Linked DNA regions of Homo sapiens: region 1 is linked to region 2. The links are contacts of gene promoters, found by promoter capture Hi-C in human tissues and cell types (Jung and others, 2019). All regions are on one chromosome and are shown on one strand. Each heading gives the region's core, a stretch centred on a gene start or on the middle of the fragment in contact. The rest is flanking DNA. Distances are from core to core; before and after follow the strand shown. Region 1 overlaps FHOD3 (formin homology 2 domain containing 3). Region 2 holds the start of FHOD3 (formin homology 2 domain containing 3).

Region 1 (4,439 bases), core at 1,438-3,937, 350 kb after region 2:
TCTCAACCTCAGCACTGTTGACGTTTTGAACTGAATAATTCTTTGTCGTGGGGGCTATTCTGTGCATTGTGGGATGTTTTACAGCATGCTTGTGTCAGCCCACTAGATGCCAATAGCATTCCCTGCCCTCCACCCCTGTTGTGACAACTAAAAATGTCTCCAGATGCTGACAAATGTCCCCTGGGGTTGGGGGCAGAATAACCCTGGTGCAGAATCGCTGCCCTAGGGTATAGCAATACAACTTTTAGGTCATGATATTAATGTTTAATTTTACAAGATAGTGTTAATTATTTTGCCAGTTAAACCTATATATCCTCGTATCAACAATATATGAATTAGTTGACTTGCATTCTTTTCATCACTTGGTATCATTAGACTTCTAATTTTACCAAGTAGATAGAAAATGGTATCTCACTGTGGCCTTAATTCATAGTGCCCTGATTGATAATCAGAATAAAATATCTCTTCATACCAGTTTGTTGGCTGTGTTCATGTATTTTGTTCATTTTATAGTTGTGTTTTTGAAGTTTAAAATATATTTTCATATATTCTTGATTTGAGTTTGTCTGTTAGATATATTGCAAATGTCTGCTCCCAGTGTATTGCTCAACTTTTTCTCATTCTGATTGCTTTGGTCTTAGAACATACTTTAACATTATTTTGAATGTTTGTATCGTGTTTCTGAAAGAGCTCAGCAACATTCATTTTCCTTTTGGTGTTTGGAAGCCCGAGAAACATGACCCATTAGCCTGAGACCCAAATCCGAGGCATTACATTGGCTTTGTTGGAAACTACGCCCCAAAGAACTGGTCAGGCTGCAGGCCTCTGGGTTGCTTTTCCAACTTGAAAACGGTGACCTCAAATCTGGGACTGTTTGCGGTGAAAAGGAAGATACCTAATGGATTTGGAACAGGCCTGGGCCCTGGAGTAACTCCTTATCAATCACAAGCAAAAGACCTGTGGAGGTATTGGAAAGCCAAAGGCCAAACACCCAGAATTCCTTAGCACAATATAAACACAATTAAGTTACGCTTTATAAGAAAATCTAGTTTGAGAAAAAGCAAAGTTGTCAGAATTAATTATTCAGTCTTAAATATTATTAGCATAAAAATCATTTCATTTGACTGATTTTATCATAGACTGGAACTAAATAAAATCAAGCCTCGAAAGTCCTGTGCCCTAGGAGAGGATATTTCCTTCTCCACCCCTTTGCATTATAGGCAAGGCCAGTGATCTGGTCATAGGGCATCCTGGACGTAGGCCCTCCAAGTGGGTCATTGTGCTGTCTGCCCTTGGTTCTGCCCTGCCACTTATGATAGCAAAGCTACAACACATACATCATATGAAGATTTATTGTGGGATCTGAGGATGTTGAGCCCAAAGAGAAGACAGCTTGGGATGTAGGTTCAGATAGCTGTCTTTAAATATCTGTGAGACAGCCATTTGGAAAAGAGTTGGATCAAAAAGACAAAGTGCTTTTACATATTAATGCATTCCTCCTAGGGGATAGGTACTGTTAGTGCCCCATGTAGGGATGAGTAAAGTGGGGTCCAAGGTCACAGGGCTCAAAAGTGGTGACTCTGAAGACCAGACCCAGGCAGTCTGGCTCCAGAACCTCTCCAGCTCTACCTGGGAGAGTAAATGGAATCAAGGAATTTTGGAGGGAGGGGCTCAGTGTTTTGTTTTAAAGAGGAGAGGCCCATCGGTTGGCAAGGTGGAGGGCATTTTGTGTGGACCAGAAGTAATAACACCTGCAAACTCCTGATCAAGCTGAGGGAAGGTGGCCTCATGATGGAGCTTGTAGGTATAGTTTGGCAGCTGTGGGAGCACATGGAGGAAAAGAAGACTGAGGCTGGTAGGGGGTGGTGTGTATGAGGGTATACTATGCCAAGCTCAGAAGGATGGCTGAGTCCGGGCATGGTGGCTTTGGGAGGCTGAGGTGGGTGGATCACTTGAGGTTAGGAGTTCAAGACCAGCCTGGCAAACATGGTAAAAACTCATCTCTACTAAAAATACAAAAATATTCATCCATGGTGGCATATGCCTGTAGTCCCAGCTATTCGGAAGGCTGAGGCACGAGAATCACTTGAACTCAGGAATCAGAGGCTGCAGTGAACCAAGATGGTGAGATTGTGCCACTGCACCTCAGCCTGGGTGACAGAGTGAGACTCTGTCTCAAAAAAAAAGGAAGGATGGCTTAGATGTGCTTGTTTGTGGCTTCTGCCATGACAGGAGGGATGCTATCTCACTGCTCTCCTTGTTTCTGCTAGAGGCACCCCGAGTCCAGATCCATCTCTCCCTTCTTAGTTACATAATTCTCAATCCCTCTACCTACCTCTTTATAAGGCCAGTATAACCTTGATTTCAAAATCTGACAAGCACATTATAGAAAGGGGAATTACAGATCAATCTCTTTCCAAAATAGGTAAAAAATTCTTAATAAATTAAGAAATAGAATCTAGCTGTATATAAAAAGATAATACATTACAACAAAATGTATTATCTTTATTAAGTTTATTCATGGTATGCAAGGTTGGCTTAACATTTTTTTTAAAAAAGCAGTCTTCATAGCTCTTTAACAGAAAAAAGGAAAAATCATATGATTATCTTAAATGCAGGAAAGGCATTTGACAGAACTTTAATACTTGTTTATAATAAAGATTTTTAGCAAACTAGGATTAGAAGGAAATTTTTTAATGAAGGCTATCTACCAAAAAAATCTATGACAAACCTTATACTTTTCCCTGAGATTTGGAACAAGAAAAGGAAGCATCACTGTCTCCATTTCTTCATAATGTTGGAGGTCCTAGCAAGTGGACTAGGGCAAGGAAAAGGAAAGGCAGATGAATTGGAAAGAAGTAGGTAAAGCCATCATTATTTAGTGATGAAACGATTGTCTACAGAGGAAGTCTAAAAGAAGCTCTAGAAACAGTATAATAAATTTAGAAAAATTGCTGGATACAAGCAAAATTTACAAAAAGTTTATTTCTATATACTATCAACAAATAGAAAATAAAATTGAGTTCAATAATATGTACAGTAGCATCCAAATTTATACCTAAAAATAAAGATATCTAAGACCTCTGTGAAAATTTAAACACTATTAAGAGAAATTAAGATAGCAGTAAGATTAGGTCTAAATAAAGGCTATATATATCACAACCATAGATTAAAAAACATAGCAAAGATGTCAGTTCTTCAAATTTGCATATAAATTCAACATAATCCCTATCAATAGTACAGCAAAAAACAAGTTGACTTGTGAGAAAAAGTCCAGAAATCTACAAATATATATCTTAATGTATATTAACCTGATTTGTGAACAAGATACTGAAGTGGAGAGAAGGCCCTTTACTAAATGGTTCTGGGCCAATTGCGTATCGATGTAGGGAAAAAAATGTATCTGACCCCTATCTTACATGATAACAAAAATCAATTAGAGATGGACTCTACAAATGTAAATCTGAAAGTTAGTGAAATGAAGCTTTTAGAAGGACACAGAGACTATCTTTAAGACCTGGTGTAAACAACAACAACAAAAATTAACACACAAAGGCATTAGCCATCAAAGGTAAACAGGACATTATTAAGAACTTCTGCTTATTAAAAGATGACATGAAGTGAATGAAAGACAATAGAGAAGGGAAAGATGTTTACAGAACATATAAATGACAAAGGGCAAATGATATTAAAAACACTTCTTCGGCCGGGTGCGGTGGCTCATGCCTGTAATTCCAGCACTTTGGGAGGCCAAGGCGGGTGGATCACCTGAGGTCGGGAGTTTGAGACCAGCCTGGCCAACATGATGAAACCCCGTCTCTACTAAATAATAATACAAAAAATTAGCTGGGCATGGTGGTGGGTGCCTGTAATCCCAGCTACTTGGGAGGCTGAGGCAGGAGAATCGCTTGACCCGGGAGGCAGAGGTTGCAGTGAGCCAAGATCGTGCCACTGCACTCCAGCCTGGGCAACAAGAGCAAAACTTTGTCTTCAAAAACACACTTCTTCAAATACAAAAAAAAATTCATTTTTTTAATGGGCAAAAAACTACTTGGACACTTCAAAGAAGAGCATATCCAAATGGACATTAAAAGTGTGACAGTGTGCCCAACTTCATTAGTCATCAGAGAAAGCAAACTAAAAGCACAGTGAGACATCACTACACACAGATCAATGGCTAAAATGAAATAGACAAAATTATCAGATCTTGGCAAGAATGTAAAACAATCAGAATGCTCATCTACTACTTATGGGGATGGTAATTCATCCCATCATTTTTTTAAATGGCAGTTATTAATAAAGATGAACCCAAGCATATCTTATGACCCAAAAATTTCATCCCAAGATATAGTACACAGTAATATATACATATGTTCACCAGAAGACATGTACTACACTGTTTATGACAGCACTATTCAAAATAGCCCCAAATTGAAGGG
Region 2 (4,063 bases), core at 1,094-3,593:
AGTTGCACATCAGGAAGCAGGCCCTGGTTCTCAGGGTAAGGGGCCAGGGGAGGAAGGTGGAAGTGAGTGGATCAGTGATAGAGCCCCAGGCAAGAGCAAGTGGGATGAAAGGGACCCAGGGTCCAGGTGGGGGCAGAGCCTTGAATGGGAGGAAAAGTATGACTTTGGTCACCTTCTGAGAAGTGGGAGATGGAAGATGGAGAGGAGATGGAAAATAAGATGAAAGATGAAGAGGAGAGGGTGCTAGAAGTCATTCTGGAGAAATTATTTACCTTATTGACTAATTTCTGAGTCGAGGAAAGGGGCAGAAGCTTGCAGCAGCATCAGTGGAGTAAGAGGCTGAGGGGCTTTGGGGTGGAAGTGGGGCACTGAGTGGTCCCACTAGCAGCAGGCACTTGGTAGATGGGGCAGAAGCAAGCCAGGTACCCAAAGGACAGGTGGGACTGAAGGAGGGGTGTGGAGAGGAGGCCCCTGAGAGGATGGGCTGGGATCCGGGTTGGAAAAGTGATAGGAAATGAGGTGGCCAGGACTGGAGGGCTCTCTCAGTGAGGAGGGAGGTGGACGTGAAGGTGGAAGTGCAGGCGGCCCATCTCAGAGGGGAAGAATTCGTGCGTTTAGTATTCTGGCTGTGAGGAGATGCGGAAGTTGGTGGAGATCCAGTCTAGATCAGGGGTCCCTAACCCCGCGGCCGCAGACCGGTACTGGTCCGTAGCCTGTTAGGAACCGGGCCACACAGCAGGTGAGCGGCCAGTGAGCGAGCATTACCGCCTGAGCTCCGCCTCCTGTCAGATCAGCGGAGGCATTAGATTCTCATGCCAGAGAGAGCCCTATTCTGAACTGCGCATGCGAGGGATCTAGGTAGCGCGCTCGTATGAGAATCTAATTCTTGATGATCTGAGGTGGAACAGTTTCATTCTGAAACCATCTGCCCTTCCTCCCCCAAACGCCCCCCACCCCCACCCCACCACTGTCCGTGGAAAAATCGTCTTCCACAAAACCGGTCCCTGGTGCCAAAAAGATTGGGGACGGCTAATCTAGAGGATTCATTCAAAGAGTTAAATAACAAAGAAAGTAGAGCTAGAAGTTCGTCTGGAAGGAGCGGAAGTGTCGTGGAATTATTATTTTAAGATCAGGCATAAGTGTGTATGTGTGGCAGGGAGGGAGATCACGGAGAGGGAGAGGTTAAAGATGTGGGTGAGGCTGCTAAATAGGGATAAGGGTTTCTTTTCCCTTGAAACCAGAGGAAAGGGAGATAGACGCGTTATAGAGTCGCCTTGAAAACACTCGGATGTTAAGAGAGACTGGGTGTTATGAGGGCGATCTATATAAGGGGGGAGGAACCAGGAACTTGGCTGTGGCCTGGGAATAGGGAGAACCGTGAATTTTTCTTGAAAACGAAGGGGGTCGCCCGTGAGCAGCGAGGAGAGCGGTGGGAGGCAGCGCCGAGTCTTGCCGCTCCCGCCTGGCAGGGGCGGGCAGGACGCAAACCTTCCTTCCCAGTCCCTCGGTTACCAGGGCATCCCCGGCTCTCTGCAATTCGGGAACCTTGCCAGAAGGGCTCCCACCTCCCCAAGCCCCCGCGGCCCCACAAGGTCCAATTAGGGCTTTCGGCGGCCTAACTGGGGAGAGGCCGTGGTGATGCAGAGGTTTAACCAGCATCCGCCGGGAGCCCCGGGGTCCAGGCCCGGCGCTGGAGTCCCGCAGCGAAGCCTCGCAGCCCCCACGCCTCTCGACTCTAGGCTTGTGCCCTAAAAGCGGCCTGGGTTCCCTGGCGCACCCTCCTCTTTCTTAGCTTCTTTGTCCCTAAGGGAAACCTCCCCGTACCCTTAGGTGGGGCTCCCGGTCACTGCCACCACCCCTCTTGCTGCCGAAGCCGGCTCCCTGGCCACCTGGTGCCCTGCCGGGGTATTCCAAATCTGGGCAGCAGAAGCCGGCCGCCGCCGCCTTCATCTGGAAAGGCTTAAGCCTTCTCCGGGTGGGGAAGAAGTCAGAAGGCCGCCTGTCTCCCCGTCCCCCAACCCCCCAACTCCCCAACTCGGTCCTCCAGGCTCCGAGGGGTGCAGCTCGGCCCTGGGCCGCGGGGCGCACGTGCAGCAGAGTCCGGCCGCCCGGCCTCCCCGCCCCGCCTCCGCCGCCGGCCTTTGGCGCAGGGCTGCGGATGCCGCGCGAGCCGTCTCCTTTGCACTTTCCCGGCTGCGGTCCGGTCGTTCGGGGCAGCCCGGCCGGGGGTAGAGGACCCGGAGGAGGGGAGGAGCCGGAGGGAGAGGGGAAGGAGGGGGCCCGCCGGCCCCGCCCCCGCCCCGCCCCCCGCGGCCGGAGCCCGGGCTGCAGCCCGGCGCGCCTGAGCCTGCGAGTCCGCGAGCCAGCGAGCTGCGGCTGCGGCCTCCCCTGCGCGCAGCTACCCGGGCGTCCCGGCCCGCGGCCCCGCTAACCCCGGGGCCCGCGCCCCCGCGGCAGGGATGCATCATGGCCACGCTGGCTTGCCGGGTGCAGTTCTTGGACGACACGGACCCTTTCAACAGCACCAACTTCCCCGAGCCCAGCCGGCCGCCGCTGTTCACGTTCCGCGAGGACCTCGCGCTCGGCACCCAGCTGGCGGGGGTCCATAGGCTGCTGCAGGCGCCGCACAAGGTACGACCCGGCGGGGTGGGCTGGGCCCCCTGGACTCAGCCCCCTGCCGCGGTGCGCGCCGGGGTGGGTCCCGGGGCTTCGTGGGCCCCCTGGGCTGGGCTGGGCGCGGCCCGGGGGGACCATCGCTCGAGGGCAAATCCCCCTCCCCGTTAGACAGAAGGGCTCGAGGCACCCGCTGGTTGGCGCAGGACCCTCCGGGGCGGGCGGGAAGGAACAGCTAGAGCCGGGGGCGGGCGTGGCAGAGCAGGTGCCGAGCCGGTCCGAGGCGGGATGGAGAAGGCTCCCCCGAGCCGCGCCGTTAGCTCGGCCGGGTGGGCGGGGTGGGGCTAGGACGCGGGCAGTCGGCCTCGGCACTCGGGCGGGCACCAAGCGGGGCGCGGGAAGAAGCGGAGCGCCGCGAGACTCAGGTCCCTTGGAGAGGAGAGCTCTGAGCGACGGCCGGGACAAAACCTCCCTCAGGCCTCTGGGGCCGCTGCGGGCGGCCACGCGACCCTCGCGACAAAGCACGCTTCCCGGCGACACCGCCTCCTCCTTCCCCCGGGGGCGCCGCCGGGGACGCCGGCCGCACACTGCGATAGCGCTCAGGGTATCCCCCTTTTCTTCTGAGAAGCAGGTGGCCTTGGGAACCTCGGAGGAGCAGTCGCTGTGGGAGGAGGGGCGGGGGCGCGGAGGGGCGGCGCGCTCACAAAGCCTCAGCTTGGCAGCCCGAAATGAGTGTCCCCTGGGAAGAATGGCTGCTCAGTCTACCCGTTAGAGAGGTTTTTTTTTTTTTATTTGTTATTTTTATTTAAATAAAACCTTTTGCAGGAGGATAGGCCTCTTGCAAAGCATTTGTTGCAAAGAGGTGGGTATTGAAAGCTAATCATTTCGTTACCTAGGAAAACCCTTACTCTCACTTAGACAGATTGAATGCAGCTTGCAAAATTACCTTCCCAGTATTTTTTCTGCCTAGGATTCATATCAAAGCTTGGAGATGATTTATTTCTTGAGGGTCGACATTAACACATATTTGGAAGAGATAAGCGTTGATGCCCAAAAGAACAAAATTGATTTAAAAAAAAACCTCGGATTTCTGTATGATGTTGACCTGCTTTGCAAGTAGAGGAGGAGGTTGGTTGTGTGAGGAAACTGGTGGACTTTAGCAGTGGTAGTTTCCTCTCTATTAATGTATCAGTGCTTTCCTCCTCTACTTAGTTAGTAACGTTTTCAGGAATAAGGAATGGGGCATTTCCATCTCATTCTCTCCTGGTTGGTTCAGGACGGATACAGTCGTGGAAACCTCTCTGGCCACAAAAGCACATTTGATTGGGAGACAGAGGGTCGTCATCATCCAGAGTGATGTATTCTGGATTCAGCTGATCAGAATCACTTTTGTAAATTATTTGGTTCTTCTCAATTAGTTGATTCAGTGAAAAGTTTTCAAAGAGCTTCT

What was found. Contacts are between HindIII fragments. The study calls those that stand out against the background at their distance.
Region 1: a fragment that was not itself captured here is called in contact with the fragment with the promoter of FHOD3 in region 2 in 1 of the 25 tissues and cell types used here (dorsolateral prefrontal cortex).

Annotation. Positions count from the first base shown.
Region 1 is chr18:36,643,251-36,647,689 of GRCh38, forward strand. The region is part of intron 10 of FHOD3 (formin homology 2 domain containing 3); the gene reads left to right. Among named protein-coding and RNA genes, the nearest start is that of TPGS2, 180 kb to the right of the region's middle. The HindIII fragment of the contact is 3,860 bases long and covers 758-4,439 here.
Region 2 is chr18:36,295,370-36,299,432 of GRCh38, forward strand. FHOD3 (formin homology 2 domain containing 3) reads left to right here and starts at 2,344. Exons shown (of 29, transcript NM_001281740.3): 1 at 2,344-2,631. The coding sequence starts at 2,467. RefSeq lists an enhancer at 1,190-2,167 and silencers at 2,107-2,396, 2,517-2,586. The HindIII fragment of the contact is 5,975 bases long and covers 1-4,063 here.